Regions from separate parts of the Homo sapiens genome. Here region 1 is linked to region 2. Evidence: promoter capture Hi-C in 16 types of primary human blood cells and fetal thymus (Javierre and others, 2016). All regions are on one chromosome and are shown on one strand. Each heading gives the region's core, a stretch centred on a gene start or on the middle of the fragment in contact. The rest is flanking DNA. Distances are from core to core; before and after follow the strand shown.

What was found. Contacts are between HindIII fragments. The CHiCAGO score rates a contact against its expected background, and 5 or more counts as called.
Region 1: a contact is called between a fragment that was not itself captured here and the fragment with the promoter of SLITRK4 in region 2, in 1 of 17 cell types (M2 macrophages). The highest score is 5.2, in M2 macrophages.

The regions. Positions count from the first base shown.
Region 1 is chrX:143,445,773-143,453,630 of GRCh38, forward strand. No RefSeq gene overlaps it. Among named protein-coding and RNA genes, the nearest start is that of SPANXN3, 68 kb to the right of the region's middle. The HindIII fragment of the contact is 2,597 bases long and covers 3,346-5,942 here.
Region 2 is chrX:143,634,550-143,641,278 of GRCh38, forward strand. It overlaps SLITRK4 (SLIT and NTRK like family member 4), which reads right to left and starts at 1,552. Exons shown (of 2, transcript NM_001184749.3): 1 at 1,186-1,552. The HindIII fragment of the contact is 4,708 bases long and covers 1-1,744 here.

The DNA of each region.
Region 1 (7,858 bases), core at 3,394-5,893, 190 kb before region 2:
TGGGGTTGTTTGTTTTTATCTTGTAACTTTGTTTAAGTTCCTTGTAGACTCTGGATGTCAGACCTTTGTCAGATGGATAGATTGCAAAAATTTTCTCCCAGTTTTTAGGTTATCTGTTCCCTCTGCTGATATTTTCTTTTGCTGTCATCTGCACATTATTGATGCATGTACCTTCCTCACAGATTCGAGGAGTTAGAGTTTCTTAGGCTTAAGTAAGCAGTGCATAGGGACAAGGGAAGGGTAGTTAAGATAGCAAATTAACACTTTGGGCAATATTCCTCTTAAACTGAGTCATCTTTAAACATCTACTTATTAAAAATACACCAGAAACTAAGTGACAAATCTAAGCTGGCCATGACTCTAGGGCTCTCAAATCATAAATGTATAAACATAAGTAAATCAGATTAAAAAGCCTCAAGTAGGGTTGTCAGATAAAATACAAGACATTTAGTTAAATTTGAAATTCTAATAAACGATGCATATTTTAGCATAAGTGTGTCCCAAATATTGCATGGGGTATACATATACTAAAAAATGTGTACTTATGCTGAAGTACCAATGATAAATCACTACTCATCAGTTATTCAAATTTAACTGTGTGTTCTACATTCTTATTTGCTAAATCTGGCAACTTCTAGCCTCAAGAGAATATGGGTTGATAATTGAATAACATTTAATGCTCCCACCTTCAATACCATCCCTCGAGTAGCCTGACCTGCTGTATATCAAGCTGCTAAGACACATGTAAAAAGACAACCCGTGATATACTCCAGGCAAAAAAGAAAAAAAAATGAAATAAACTTTTCCCAGGGTACCCTTTCACTTACCATTGACTCTACTCCAACCCCCAACTCTTTCAACTTGACAACTTTAGAACCTAATATGCACTAGACATGGTAACTTTTAGAAGTTTCATCCCATGTTGTACCATATATACTGAAATTTATTAATTTCTTAATAATTAAATTAATCTCTTAATATCTATGCACAGTGGTAGACTTCAGATGCATGTGACTACATGTCATAATGTTAAAGAGTCAATCAAACATTTATTCATTTTTACTTTTTTTTTTTTTTTTCCCACTCGGGAGCTAATTTTGTTTTTAGGTCTCAACCATTTCCACAATCTCATGCAAAGCTCACAGGTCCCATATTCTGTTCCTTCCATGCCAAATGGATAAAATGGCTCTTCCTGGTCCCCCTCTATCTTCTAAGGGCTGATAAAGCATAGACAATTCAGGCATACTTGACTTTATGCCTATATATGTTCCTGGAAAAGTCCACTGGCTTTGCATTTATTCAACTGAATTCTTGCCGAATGTACTGTCCAATAAAGATGACCCTTAACTGGGAGTAAAGTGATGGAGCTCCCCTCGTCCTGGCTTAACCATTTATGAAATCAATGACCCAGAGACCTCTGAAGCCTCGTGTATAGAAAAGATATTAAATCTAGCTTTACTTTCCCATGTGATTCCTGTAATAATCCAGTGATATTACGTCAGAGAAAGCACATTGGAAACTGTAAAATACTTACAGAATATTAAGAACCACCTTCTATATTCGTTTTTTTTTTTTTTTTGAGATGGAGTCTTGCTCTGTTGCCCAGGCTGGAGTGCAGAGGCACAATCTCGACTCACTGCAACCTCCGCCTCCCAGGGTCAAGCAATTCTCCTGCCTCAACCTCCCAAGTAACTGGGACTACAGGCGGACGCCGCCACACCCAGCTTATTTTTTGTATTTTAGTAGAGATGGGGTTTCATCTTGTTGCCCAGGCTGGTTTCTGAGCTCAGGCAATCCACCTGCCTCAGCCTCCCAAAGTGCTAGGATTACAGGCGTGAGCCACTGCACCTGGCCCAACCTTCTATATTCTTTACAGCAGATTTCCATAGTGATAAAAAATATTTAAAATACAAACACTCCATTTTCTAAGCTATAAATCGGAATTGGTATAGCAGATTTCTCTAAAGCAAGACCTCTCTGTTTCAACTAAAGTAGCACAAGAAGGAAATCTCCAATCAATGTCTCCATGTAGATATCTAAGTCAATTAGTAGAGCATTTTAATTAGATTAGACTCATTTTGAATGTTGTTTATGAAATGTATTTAATTTTTTTTCTGTTTTGGTTTTGCATGTTGGTTTCTGTAGCTGTCCATGTAGTTATGGCAGTTTTGCAACACACACAGGGCAGAAAAAAAAACAAACAAACAAAAAAAACAGTTGTTTAGTCTAAAGGCAAGACAGAGATTCTGTGTCTACATTGTATATAAAGCCTCCTGGCTGTGAATATTAACCTCTAGTATAATGAATACCTTGTATTTCTTGTATATCAGGCCAGAGCTCTTCTTATACTGCCAGGCATCCAGCAGCCTCTAAAGACTGGGAGTAGCTGCTGCCCCAAATGGCTGGGTATCATGAAAACCCTTCTACTGTGCAGTGTGATCATGGAGGAGGTCCACGGGAGAGATTGGAACTTCAAATAAAATATTTACAGTCTATTTGAGTTAATGAAATAGTTTCCTATCAGCTGGATGTGTGTGTCTATGTGTGCCCACATTTTTGCAAATAATACTGAGCAATTCTATCAGAGAATTGAGACTAGTGATACCTTTGAAAGCCCTCCTGACTGTAACAGATACTGTTTATTAAGGACGTTATTTTGTTTGAAATACACATCATTTGGCTGTTCCATTTTTATTTTCTGCTCTCTTGCCTCTGTAGGTTTTCAAGTTGAACTACTTAGAAAATGTTTACAGCTTTAATTTTTTCCCATAACTGAATGCGATTTTTTTCTTTGATTTTTCCCCCTAAGGATCATTTTGCCATTTTGATTTTGCCCAATGAGATGTCAAGGAAGGTATACTAACATTTATTGAACCCCTGCTATGTTACAGATAACTAGACACTAGGTGCCTCCTATGTACATTATTCAATTCCATCCACGAGACTGTGAGGCACAGATGACCATTACCTTCAACATACAGATGAGAAACTGATGCTTTGACTTCAAAACAGGTGACTGGACACTTCCCATTACTAATAGTAAATTCATTTTTATTCTTGTTTTCTATAGAAAAAATGCTCTTTTCCTCTCTTCTTACAATAGTACCTGTTCTTATCTTTAAAAGCCACTTCATTCTTGGAAGCATTATTAAGTGAAACTGAAAAATAAATAAATGAATAAATAAATAAATAAATAAATAAAAGCTTTCTCTTGAAGTCTCCCAAATCAGAAGAATTTTCTCAGTAGGGGCAGATTAAAGTATGGCCCTCAAGAGATGGATGAAATGTCCTCTTTGGCAGACTTACAGTTCCCATCTGTAGACCATCAGTCACCTGCATTCTCAAAGCTTTAGCTTGCTCACTCCCTCTTTCAGCACTAATGTATTTGCTGAGTTTGTTGTTTACAGAGTTACCCTGAAGATATAAAGGAGAGAATGTAAAACGAGGGAAAGACCTCCTTTCTTCAGCTGTAAATAAGCCTGCTCAAGTTGACCTCTCATGGTAGTTTTAAGTATAAATTAGGAAACATCTCAAGTTCATGAGTCCTCTAAGTGAAAAAACAAGAAAGGAAAGTCACTAATTTCAATGAAGGAGCAGCCAATTCATCCGAAATGATCTACCTAAAGGCTTTATCTTGACACATTTAAAAAAACATTGGGCCAGGCACTGTGGCTCACACCTGTAATCCCAACACTTTGGGAGGCTGAGGTGGGTGGATCACCTGAGGTCAGGAGTTCAAGACCAGCCTGGACAACATGGTGAAACCTCATCTCTACTAAAAATACAAAAATTAGCTGGGCGTGGTAGAGGATGCCTATAATCCCAGCTACTTGGGAGGCTGAACCAGGAGAATCGCTTGAGCCCAGGAGGCGGAGGTTGCAGTGGGCTAAGATCACACCACTGTACTCCAGCCTGGGTGACAGAATGTGACTCCATCTCAATAATAATAATAATAATAATAATTTTAAGTGCCTCTATGTTTTTTAAACAAATTTAAGATCTGGCTGACTTCTTAAGGTAAATGTTGAACATAATAATTTCATAATGAAATGAAAGCAGATTTTATTTAGCCCAGCATCTATATGAAAAATTAAGAGAGCAATAGATAAAATATGTTTTTATATTATAAATTCATGTTTTACATTCACTTTAGAAAGTAATACAGCATTGAGTTTATTAATCTAATGATCTCTGACTTGTTTGATAATTTGATAATCTGCTTAGAGCAGTCCAAATTATTCTGTTTCTTCTATACCTTGTAAAATGATTATAAAATAGTTATTACTATTTTCATTAATAGAGTACTTACTACATGCTAGGTATTTGTTTAAGAACTCTGTTTATTATTCAATTTAATTATCAAAACAACTTTTTAAGGTATGAATTACTATCTCTACTCTCCAGATAAGAAGGAGGGTTGGAGAAGAGTAATTTAGCCAAAAGTCATTCTATCAGTAACTGACAATTAAACCTAAACCCTACTCTATCAGATTCCAGAACCCATGACTTAACTACTAGACTACACGGTCTGAGGCTTAGGTAGAAATAATGAGTAGATTCATCTTTGAAATGGCTAGTGATTTACAACTCTTGGGTAAGTAGCAAGTCCCTCACATCTCAAGAAGGTCTTTGTTTTTATCTACAAATTGAAGCCAAAAGGTTTACTAGGGATCAAATAAAATGACAGTTTATTCCCAAACATCTGTGGAATAAATAAACTAAAGAGGCAAGGAATTCTTAATCAAGGTAGCATGGGGAATATGAAGCCCAAGGAATACATGTATCCTATATAGACCAAAGGAGGTATGTGGCTCATGAAAGGATATTTGGCCAAGAGGAATATGTGGTCTGAGGGAAATATTAATATGTGGCCCAAATTGGCCCAAGTACCATCAGCCAATCTGCAGTCCTGTATCCATGGCCAACATTATACTGTGATCATGAAATTTTTCCTACTGAATCTGAGCTTATGCTCAAAATTCTTCAAGAAATAGTCCCTCAAGTAGGAAATATAGGGCTGTCTTTAGAGTTAGCATGCGAAATGAAACTATTTGCTTATCGCTGAGAAAAATTTGAAAGTTGACTTAAGCAAGGTACATGTTTCTAAGCTACGGTGTTCTAAGTTATAAAGTACTAAGAAAACTTGTACTTAATGTATAACTTATGGTGATAGAACTGAAATGACCTCTTCTAAATGAGAAAGTAAATTTGATTTTTTCTTTTAAACAATATTTGCTCTTAATTGCTTGTTATCTTGCACAAAACAGAATCCTTTTTGTTTGATTACTTTGATCTCTCTAGTTTTTGTCCCTTTTGGACATTAAAAAAAAATCACTGTCATCAATAAGTACATGCTGCTACTTTTGCACAGTATGATGGTTAATATTAGTGTCAACTTGATTAAATTGAAGGCTGCCTAGATGGCTGGTAAGGTACTGTTTCTGGGTGTACCCATGAGGGTGCCAAAAGAGATTGACATTTGAGTTAGGGGACTGGGAAAGGAAGACCCACCCTCGAATTGGGTGGTCACCATCCAATCAGCCGCCAGCATGAAAAAAAATAAATCAGGGAAAGAAGGTGGGATAACTTTGCTTGGGTCTTCTGGCTTTCTTCTTTTTTCCCATGCTGGATGCTTCCTTCTGCTCCTCCTGCCCTTGAACATCAGACTCCAGATTCTTCAGCCTTTGCACTCTTGGACTTACACCAGTGGTTTGCCAGGGACTCTTGGGCCTTTGGCCACAGACTGAAGGCTGCACTGTAGGCTTTTATGGTTTTGAGGCTTTCAAACTTGGACTGAGCCACTACTGACTGCTTTCTTCCCCAGCTTGCAGACAGCTTATGGTAGGACTTTGCCTTGTGTGACTGTGAGTCCCTCTGGAGAACCCTAACTTAACACACAGGGATTTGTAAGGTTTAAAAACTATCTTCCCAGATGAAAGCTAAGCTTGTGGCAGGTCTATAGATTACTTTGGAGGTGTTGTCCATGAATGTTCCAAAACTATGTTAAAATATCTAAGGAGAGGATCCATAGTTTTCCAAAGAGCAATGAAAGGTTTTTGGCTTAATCCCTCATGAAGCTCCATAATATCCACTGAGTCTATATGAAATATTAAGCACCATACTTGAATTGAGGTACAGAGATAATTACAAAACAGACACCAGCCTAATAGAGTCCACAGATGTGCAACTTCCTGCTCTGCAGGCACTGACTCCCCACCGGTCGTTCCTCATAGTGTTCCATAAAGTTAGTCTCCTGGAGGCATAGGGTGTCCTCTAGCCCAGCTTCCTAGCCATGTCAGCAGAGGCATTCCACTGAGAACTGCCCTGTTGCATGTCTCTTTGGAAAACATAGTCCTAGCTTCTCTTTCTAGGAGATGGAAAAATGCCTTGTATCCCTTCCCAATGAATTGCAGAATAAGAAAATAAAGCACTAGTTAATTTCTCAGTAGGTCACACTCTGATATGAAATTCCCAATAAATCACACTGCTACATTTTTAAAGATCACAGTTTGAAAAGATTGTTTCGAGTAAGAAGAGATTTGAGACAGAGACCAGTGAAGAAGCTATTGCAGTCATCCAGGGAAGCAATTACGATGGCCTGAAATAGAGGGCTGGCAATGGGGACAGAGAAAAATGCAAGGATGTTGAGAGATATTTTTCTAGGTAGAACTGATAGGAGCTTTGAGAAATGAGGCTCAAGGTGTAGGCCTGAAGGTGCCAACAAAGGATTTTGTATAACACATTAAAGGACTTAGACTTTATCCTAGAGAATAGAAGTTGCAAACTGGTAGTCCGTAATTCCAGTAACCTGCGGATCTATTTTATTTTCCCTACCCCACAGGATTAAAGAAATACATTACTTGCCAAAATGTAATTCAAGCTGAGTGGTGCTTGCTTCTTTTAGATAAGCCATGGATTCTCATATCTGCCATGATCCACCTGGGGCCAAATGTTCTATTGCCTGCCTAGACCCTATAGACAATTGATGTTGCTCCTCTTGTTGCAGGTATTGAACAGATCCTTAAATGTCTAAACCAGGGAGTGGCAGAAGCATTTTTTTTTAACTAGATCATCCGGGTACCATGCGGATAAATTGGAGAGAGACAAGATCAGAGATAGAAAGACCATTTAGGAGACTGTGGCAGTACTAGATATAAGAGAAGGTAAGGTGAGGCCTGAACTAAGTAGTCCAGATGGAATGGAGAGAGCAGCTTCCAGAAATGTTTAAGGATCAGAACCAATAGAGCTTGGTGATTGGTTGAGATACAAAGGATGGGGTAAAGCAGTCAAGGATAACTGACTTAGGTTTCTGGTTGTATCTGGATTGAGGTAAAAAACACAGCAGAAGAAGCTGGTTGAAAAACATTGATTCCTATATTGAATTTAAATTCATTAGGTATTTGCTAAGGGAAAATTAGAGCTGCTCAGTGAGTCATGGAATATATGAAAAACTAACACAAGATGCTTCTTGTCACCCTAAAAAGTCAATTTCAGAGGACAAAACCAGTTTCAGTACATTGGTTGGGTAATCAATTTCTTTTCCCAGGAGGTCACAGAACCTGACATGCTGTGGCCAAGATGTATGTATGTATATATTTCACTAGCAAAGTGAATGAGAACAAGATGAACCAAGATAAAATGAGAACAAAAATTCATTCCATTATTCCCATTATTTATTGTTCACTAAAGATGCAGCTCCATAGTATGGATAAGATGCCTATAGACATTCATTAAAAGATTACTACCATGTGTTGACACATATACTTAGTTCCATTTTCTTCTATGTCATCTAAGTCAGCCAGTGGTAATGAATGTATCCTATGGGGAAGATGCGAGATTAAGGCAAATTAAATTAAGT
Region 2 (6,729 bases), core at 302-2,801:
GCGGGCAGCGATGCCAAGGACACCCGGATCCTTTCCGGTCCTCAGCGGCATGAGACCGCGTCGTAGGCAGGCAAGTGGGAGGTGGAGGGCAGGATTAGCCACCTCGGCCACTTTGGCCACTCAACCGGCCCCAAACCAACAGGACCCAAACTAAAAATAATAAGCTACCTGCCCCCTCGGCTCGCGTGCGCGCGCGCGAGATCTCTCTCTCTCTCTCTGTCTCTCTCTCACACACACACACGCACGCACACGCGCTACTGAGCTGAGCGGGGAAGAGGCAGCACGCGTGTCGGTGCAGCTTGTGCAGCCCCCGCTGAAAATTCACCCACCTCTAGAGCCCAGCGTCTGGTGCAGGGCCCGCGGCGCCGTGACCTGCGCTGCTGTTTCCACGATGGTATCTATGTGATTCCGGACAGAGCTCCTCCGCGCCCGCTCGCCCGTCAAACCCACGGAGCAGCCCCAGCAGGCGAGCAGGCGGGCCGGCGGGCAGGCGGGCAGCGGCGCGCGCGCGCACCCGAGCAGACACCGCGCGCGCACCCAGCGCCTAGCACACGGGCTGCACCTTTACATACACGCGCTGAATCCCCGCCCCCGCTCTCCACCACCCCCCCCCACCCCGCACACAAGCAGTCCTTCCTCCCGACACTCGACCACTTTGACCCCCTCACATTCCTGAGCTCCTACCCCCGTCCCCCATCCAGACATGCCCATTTGATTCCTCTTCTACCCACACACCCAGAAAGACAGCGCGCTTTCCTCCCGGCATCCGCCCCCTCTTTTTGCCTAAAACATTCCCTAGGGAGGAGCGACCCCTTTCCTCAGGCGTGGAGACCCCAGTCCTCTAACAAGGGCGCACTCGCCTCCATCCCCCCCACCACATACACACACACTCGAGCCCTTTTCTTCTCTTCCAGTCCCCTAATAACGAAGGAACACACACACACACACACACACACACACACACACACACACACACACACGGGGCATTCCTTTGAGAGAGCAACCAAGAAGCCAGGAAAAGCCAAAGAAACACTGGAGAGCCTGGGGGAGGGGGGCCGAGGGAGATCGATAGGGTCGTCGAGTCTACGCGGAATTGAATAATTACAGGATGGAGGGGAATGAGTCAACAACAATGACATTCAAATGCAACAATCATACTTGGATTTTGTATCACGGGTACGGTACCTTTGGCTAATTGTCACCCCGCAGAACGGAGGGCTCCTGGAATACTTCTCCGTGGCGGTCGATCCTGGAAGGAGCCTTCTTGGGAACCAATTTCCTAGGATCCAGTAGTATTCGCACTCCCCCTACCTGTCTGCGCGTAAGGGGCCAGGGGCTTTAAGGCGAAAGTGTGAGGCTTTAGCCTAAAGTGAGACTATTTAGCCGGGTTAGAAGGAGACGGGTTAATTATCCGCACCTTAGAACTCCGTGGGCCTTTGGTGCAGAATGGGTTAAGCCGGATGATCTTGGAGCTGGGGGTGGGGATAGGGGATAGGGGATAGGGGTTGAGGAAAGAGAGGCGTGGGACTGGGAGAGATGCCGCACTTGCGACCAAAAGAAAAAAAAAAAAAAAAACTACTTTGGCTACTGAGCATGCCCAGTTCCCAGCTCAAGCCCTATAAGGGAGGCATTGTGTGCATTCCACTTCTCCGGGCTTTGGTGGTGACCGGGAGGGGAGTTTGACTGGGGAAGGGGGTGGTAGTTGGGAGACATTAGGGAAAGGGGGTTGGAGAACAAGGTTTGAAGCTTTGGGACTGCTCAGGAGGGACTGTGAAGAGAGAAAGGGAAGGGACCCACGGAGTACCTTCGGGAGACGGGGAGAAGGAGAGGAAATGGACTAAGAAAAGTCACTTCAGTCGCCCCTCATTGTGTATACCAAAGAGGCTTTAGCAGCTGAATCTGAAATATCCAGTGGCTGCAAATCCAACGTGTGGATTGTCTAGGCCCCTTCTTCTACCCTTTTTGTTAGTGCTTCCACAAGAGATAAGAAATATTCTGAGGAAGGGCCAATGTTCAAACCAGTTTCATGCAAATTGATAATTTCGTTAATAAGCTTGTTAAGAAAATAAATAAACCTGGGGGAGGGGAGCAGAGAGGAGTTGGCTATCATGTATGTATTTCAGATACCTGGCTTTCCTAAACAAAAGGCATAAACATTGGATGTGCTCCCATCCCCCAACCTTGCTGTTTTTTGTAGGAGCTTGGCTAAGAAAAACAACTCTCTCTCTCTTCGTGTCTGTGGGAATAAACTAGCTTTAGGTAAGTAGAGCTAAGTTATAAATGGGAAGTATTTCCCTAGGACTCTTGGTAGCCTATTATTTGCCACATTCAGGTAATACTGCCAGGCCCATTTCTTCAGGACCAGTGTGTTGCCCAATTTACTTATTCAAATCCCAGCGGCTCTAGCCACAATAGAGCACAACCGGTATCCAGAAATGTTCTTGCTTAAAAATGAAAAAAAAAATCTTTAAGCTAAAACTAGCAACAGCTTTGAAACCAGAATTTGGCTGTCTGCCTGAACTCCTACAGTTAAACATTTACCATAATTGGTTGATGTTTAAAGGCCCCAAATCTAGGTAGAAACATCTGATGGGCAAAGGATTTATTACATTATTTGTGAATAATGGTCTACCTTCTGTATCATCTATAGTAGTCATTCATATACATGTTTCATTGTTTTTCATTTTTTGTCATTTTATGGGACTTCCGTCAGGTTATATTCACACAAATGTTCACCGGGCACAACATGTATACAGAGATGCACGTACAATATGTAAATGAATACTTAAATAGATATGCGTGTATGGGCATATTTCTTTATGACCTTGCTAAATATTGTGTCGTTCATGAAGAACTCTTTCTCTACCTTCACTCCACATTGCCTTGAAAACTGTAATCATCCTCTCTTTTACAAACAACCTAGAGACAGAAATTGGGCAGCATTGGTAAAATTTATCTTATTCAATGTGAAATCCATTATGAAATAGCATTAAGGAAACACTAAAATATTTGTCTATAACAGCGTATGTAATTGTGCAGCTCCTTTTAGCAAAGTGAATGATGTTTCCTTCATAGGTAACAGCTGCAGAATGTTGAAAAATCCCTCTACTCTTGCACACTTGGACAAAACAGATCCTGCTAATTAATAACTCACATTTGCATTTTATTGTGTAATGCAGTTTGAAAGTAGTAATGGGTATCAAAACAAGTTGGCATTTATTCTAAATGCTAACAATTCAGGAAGCTGAATATATTTTATCCAGATAGGTGAAATGTTTGTCTTTTACTACAAATGTTAACAAGAGTCAATAGAATGAGCAAAAAAAGTTTACCTGAAAATTCTAAGTAATGTGATAACTGAAAAGGCCAGATTTGGACAGTAAATATCAGATGATTTAAATGCCTATCTTTATTCAACTTTAGAAACTGTTCTGAGACTTGGCTATATTTAACTGCAATAACTGTGAAATGTTATTTTTCATATGGATATGGAGACAAATCTGAAAGCCACTGTAGCTAGATCATCGATAAATTACAATTCATAATATTCCTAAGAACTTATCTGTGATTAATATTCAACTTTTTTAAATGAATGCTTTAAAATAAAATGTTTTGCTACTTAAAAAGATAAAGTGGACACTCATAAAATAAAACAGAAGTAACAACTTCCATGTTTTATGCTTATTTTGCTTTCAAAGTAATTAACCCAATCCTTTAGTCCCACAGTCCCTTTTCCGTCCCCTAGAACTACAGGTGACATCCCAATAGAACAGTAGGAAATGACACAGAATTGCTAGCTTAACAAAGGAAGTGAATATATACATAAATAAAAGTGTTAAGAAAACTCCAGCACTATTTATGGCCATTGAAAGAAAAACAAAATTGATGTTCTTCCTAAAATGTAAGCATGCAAATATTGTGAGTTTTGCAATACTCTCACGGTCTTCCTCCAAATGTTTTACCTTATTTCATCTTGACTTTTTAGGAGTACAACCAGAATCGTAGGTCTACACTGATATACTGTGTCTCCCTCCATCAGGGAAAAAAACAACTGCACTAAGAATTTCAACAAGATCCTGTATACCCTCCGTTCCGAAGGCAGTTTGGAATTAAGTCATTAAAACACTACCAACCGAAAGTGATTATAATGCCAAGTCTTGGCCCTAGTCAGCGGTCTTTCACTTTCACTGTATTCCTCATTTATCTTGCCTTGTCTTAGGCTGCTGCTCAAAATCAAATCAGCCTTAATTTTCGTATCCAGGTATCACAGATGATTCAGTGTATTTTAATATTGAAGATTTATTTATATTCTGGCATTTTAACAGTTACAAACTTGCTATTTCTCTTTCATTTTTATTTATTTATTTTTGAGACAGAGTCTCACTCTGTCACCCAGGCTGGAGTGCGTTAGTGTGATCTCGGCTCACTGCAACCTCTGCCTCCTGGGTTCAAGCAATTCTCCTCCCTCAGCCACCTGAGTGGCTGGGATTACAGGCATGTGCCACCATGCCCGGTTAATTTTTGTATTTTTAGTAGAGATGGAGTTTCACCATGTTGTCCAGGCTGTTCTCAATCTTCTGACCTCAGGTGATCCGCCCATCTCGGCCTCCTAAAGTTCTGGGATTACAGGCGTGTGCCACCGTGTCCGGTCACACACTTGCTATTTCTCTAAGTGGAATACAAGAAAGTTCTTAGGATGTTAATATATCTTCTGGGAAGAAATGTTTCCATGATCAAATAAGTTTAAAAGACCCTTGGTTCCGTAAAGCTAAACATTTTATTTTTACTTTGGGATTTTTCAACACAATTAATTATGTTTAAATGAGCTTTTATTTACCAAGGGAAAAGGGATATGGCATGTGGCATTTCACAGACTTACTTAACAATGGAACCCTTTTTTCTATCTATATAATTTGAAAAACATACTAATAGCCCATTTTTACAAATTTTCTGGAATTTAGAACATGAAAGGAAGTTTTCAGATCATAATTAACCCATTCAATAGTAGCTACTGTCTGTTGAGTGCCTCTTCTTTGCTGTGCTGCCTACAAATATTATTTCATTTAGTTCTATGAACAAGGAAGGGATTATCATACTTATTTTAAAAATGAGGTTAAGTGACCAGGCATGGTGGCCCATTCCTGTAATCCCAGCACTTTGGGAGGCTGAGGTGGGGAGATCACTTGAGCCCAGGATTTCAAAACCAGCCTGGGCAACATGGGAAAAATCGTCTCTACAACAAATACAAAAATCAGTGGTGCATGGTGGCACATGCTTGTAGCCCCAGCTGCTTGGAAGGCTGAGGCGGGAGGATCACTTGAGCCCAGGAGGTCAAGGCTGCCATCAGCTGTGGCCATGCCACTGCGCTGCAGCCCAGCCAACAGACTGAGACTCTCTCAAAATAAAATAAAATAAAATAAAATAAAATAAAATAAAATAAAATTCAGGGAAGGTAAACAGTTTGCCCGAGGTCACATGGTGAGTAAGTGATGGTCAAGATTTGACCCCAGATCTTTGAGGTTTTTCCAGTACACCACATTTTCGTTTTCACAGGGGGATTAGGGAATTTTTAACTTTGAAAGCAGAATAGACTTGAAAGCTGGGCAGGGTGACTTAACGCCTGTATTCTCAGCACATTGGGATGCCAAGACAAACAGTCTGGGCAGCAAGGTGAAAAGCCATCTCTTTAAAAAATAAATTTAAAAAAATAGCCAGGCATCGTGGGGTGCACCTGTAGTCCCAGGTACTAGGGAGGCTGAGGTGGGAGGATCGCTCAAGCTTAGGAGGTCAAGGCTGCAGTGAGCCATCATCAAGCCACTGCACTCTAGCCTGAGCGACAGAGTGACCCTGTCTCAAAAAAAGAGAAAGGGATAGATTTGAAAGCAGAATAAATTTTCCAAAGATGAATACTTGAGACATAAATGTTTTCAAGTATTAAAGTATGAATACTCAGCACAGGAATAAACAAATAAATGACATTAAAAACAGTTCACATCAATTATGCATGACAAGGTCTCTTGAATCAACTGATTTTACCTTTTGCCAGTAGTAGCCTTGTTCTATCCATTCTGCTCTTTCAACTCTCATACCTGAGTTGATTCTGAATCTGTGATGATGTCTCAAATGTTCCTTATTAGGGATAATCACTTTCACTATCACCAAATGAAGCCATGTGTATTAGTCAGTGTTCTCTAGAGGGACAGAACTAATATATATACACACACACACACACACACACACACACACACATATATATATACACACACTTATATATTTTATATATACATATATATATATATATATATATATATATATATATATATATATATGGGAGTTTATTAAGTAGTATTAACTCACATGATCGCAAGGTCCCCCATTAGGCTGTCTGCAAGCTGAGGAGCAAGGAATCCAGTCTGAGTCGCAAGGCTAAAGAACTTGGAGTCTGATGTTCAAGGGCAGGAAGCATCCAGCATGGGAGGAAGATGTAGGCTGGGAGGCTAAGCCAGTCTCACCTTTTTACATTTTCCTGCCTACTTTACATTCCCTGGCAGCTGATTAGATGGTGCCCACCCACATTAAGGGTGGGTCTGCCTTTCCCAGCCCCCTGACTCAAATGTTAATCTCCTTTGGCAACACCCTCACAGACACATCCAGGATCGATACTTTGCATCCTTTAATCCAATCAAGTTGACGCTCATTATTAACCACCACACCAAGCAAAGCAGTAGT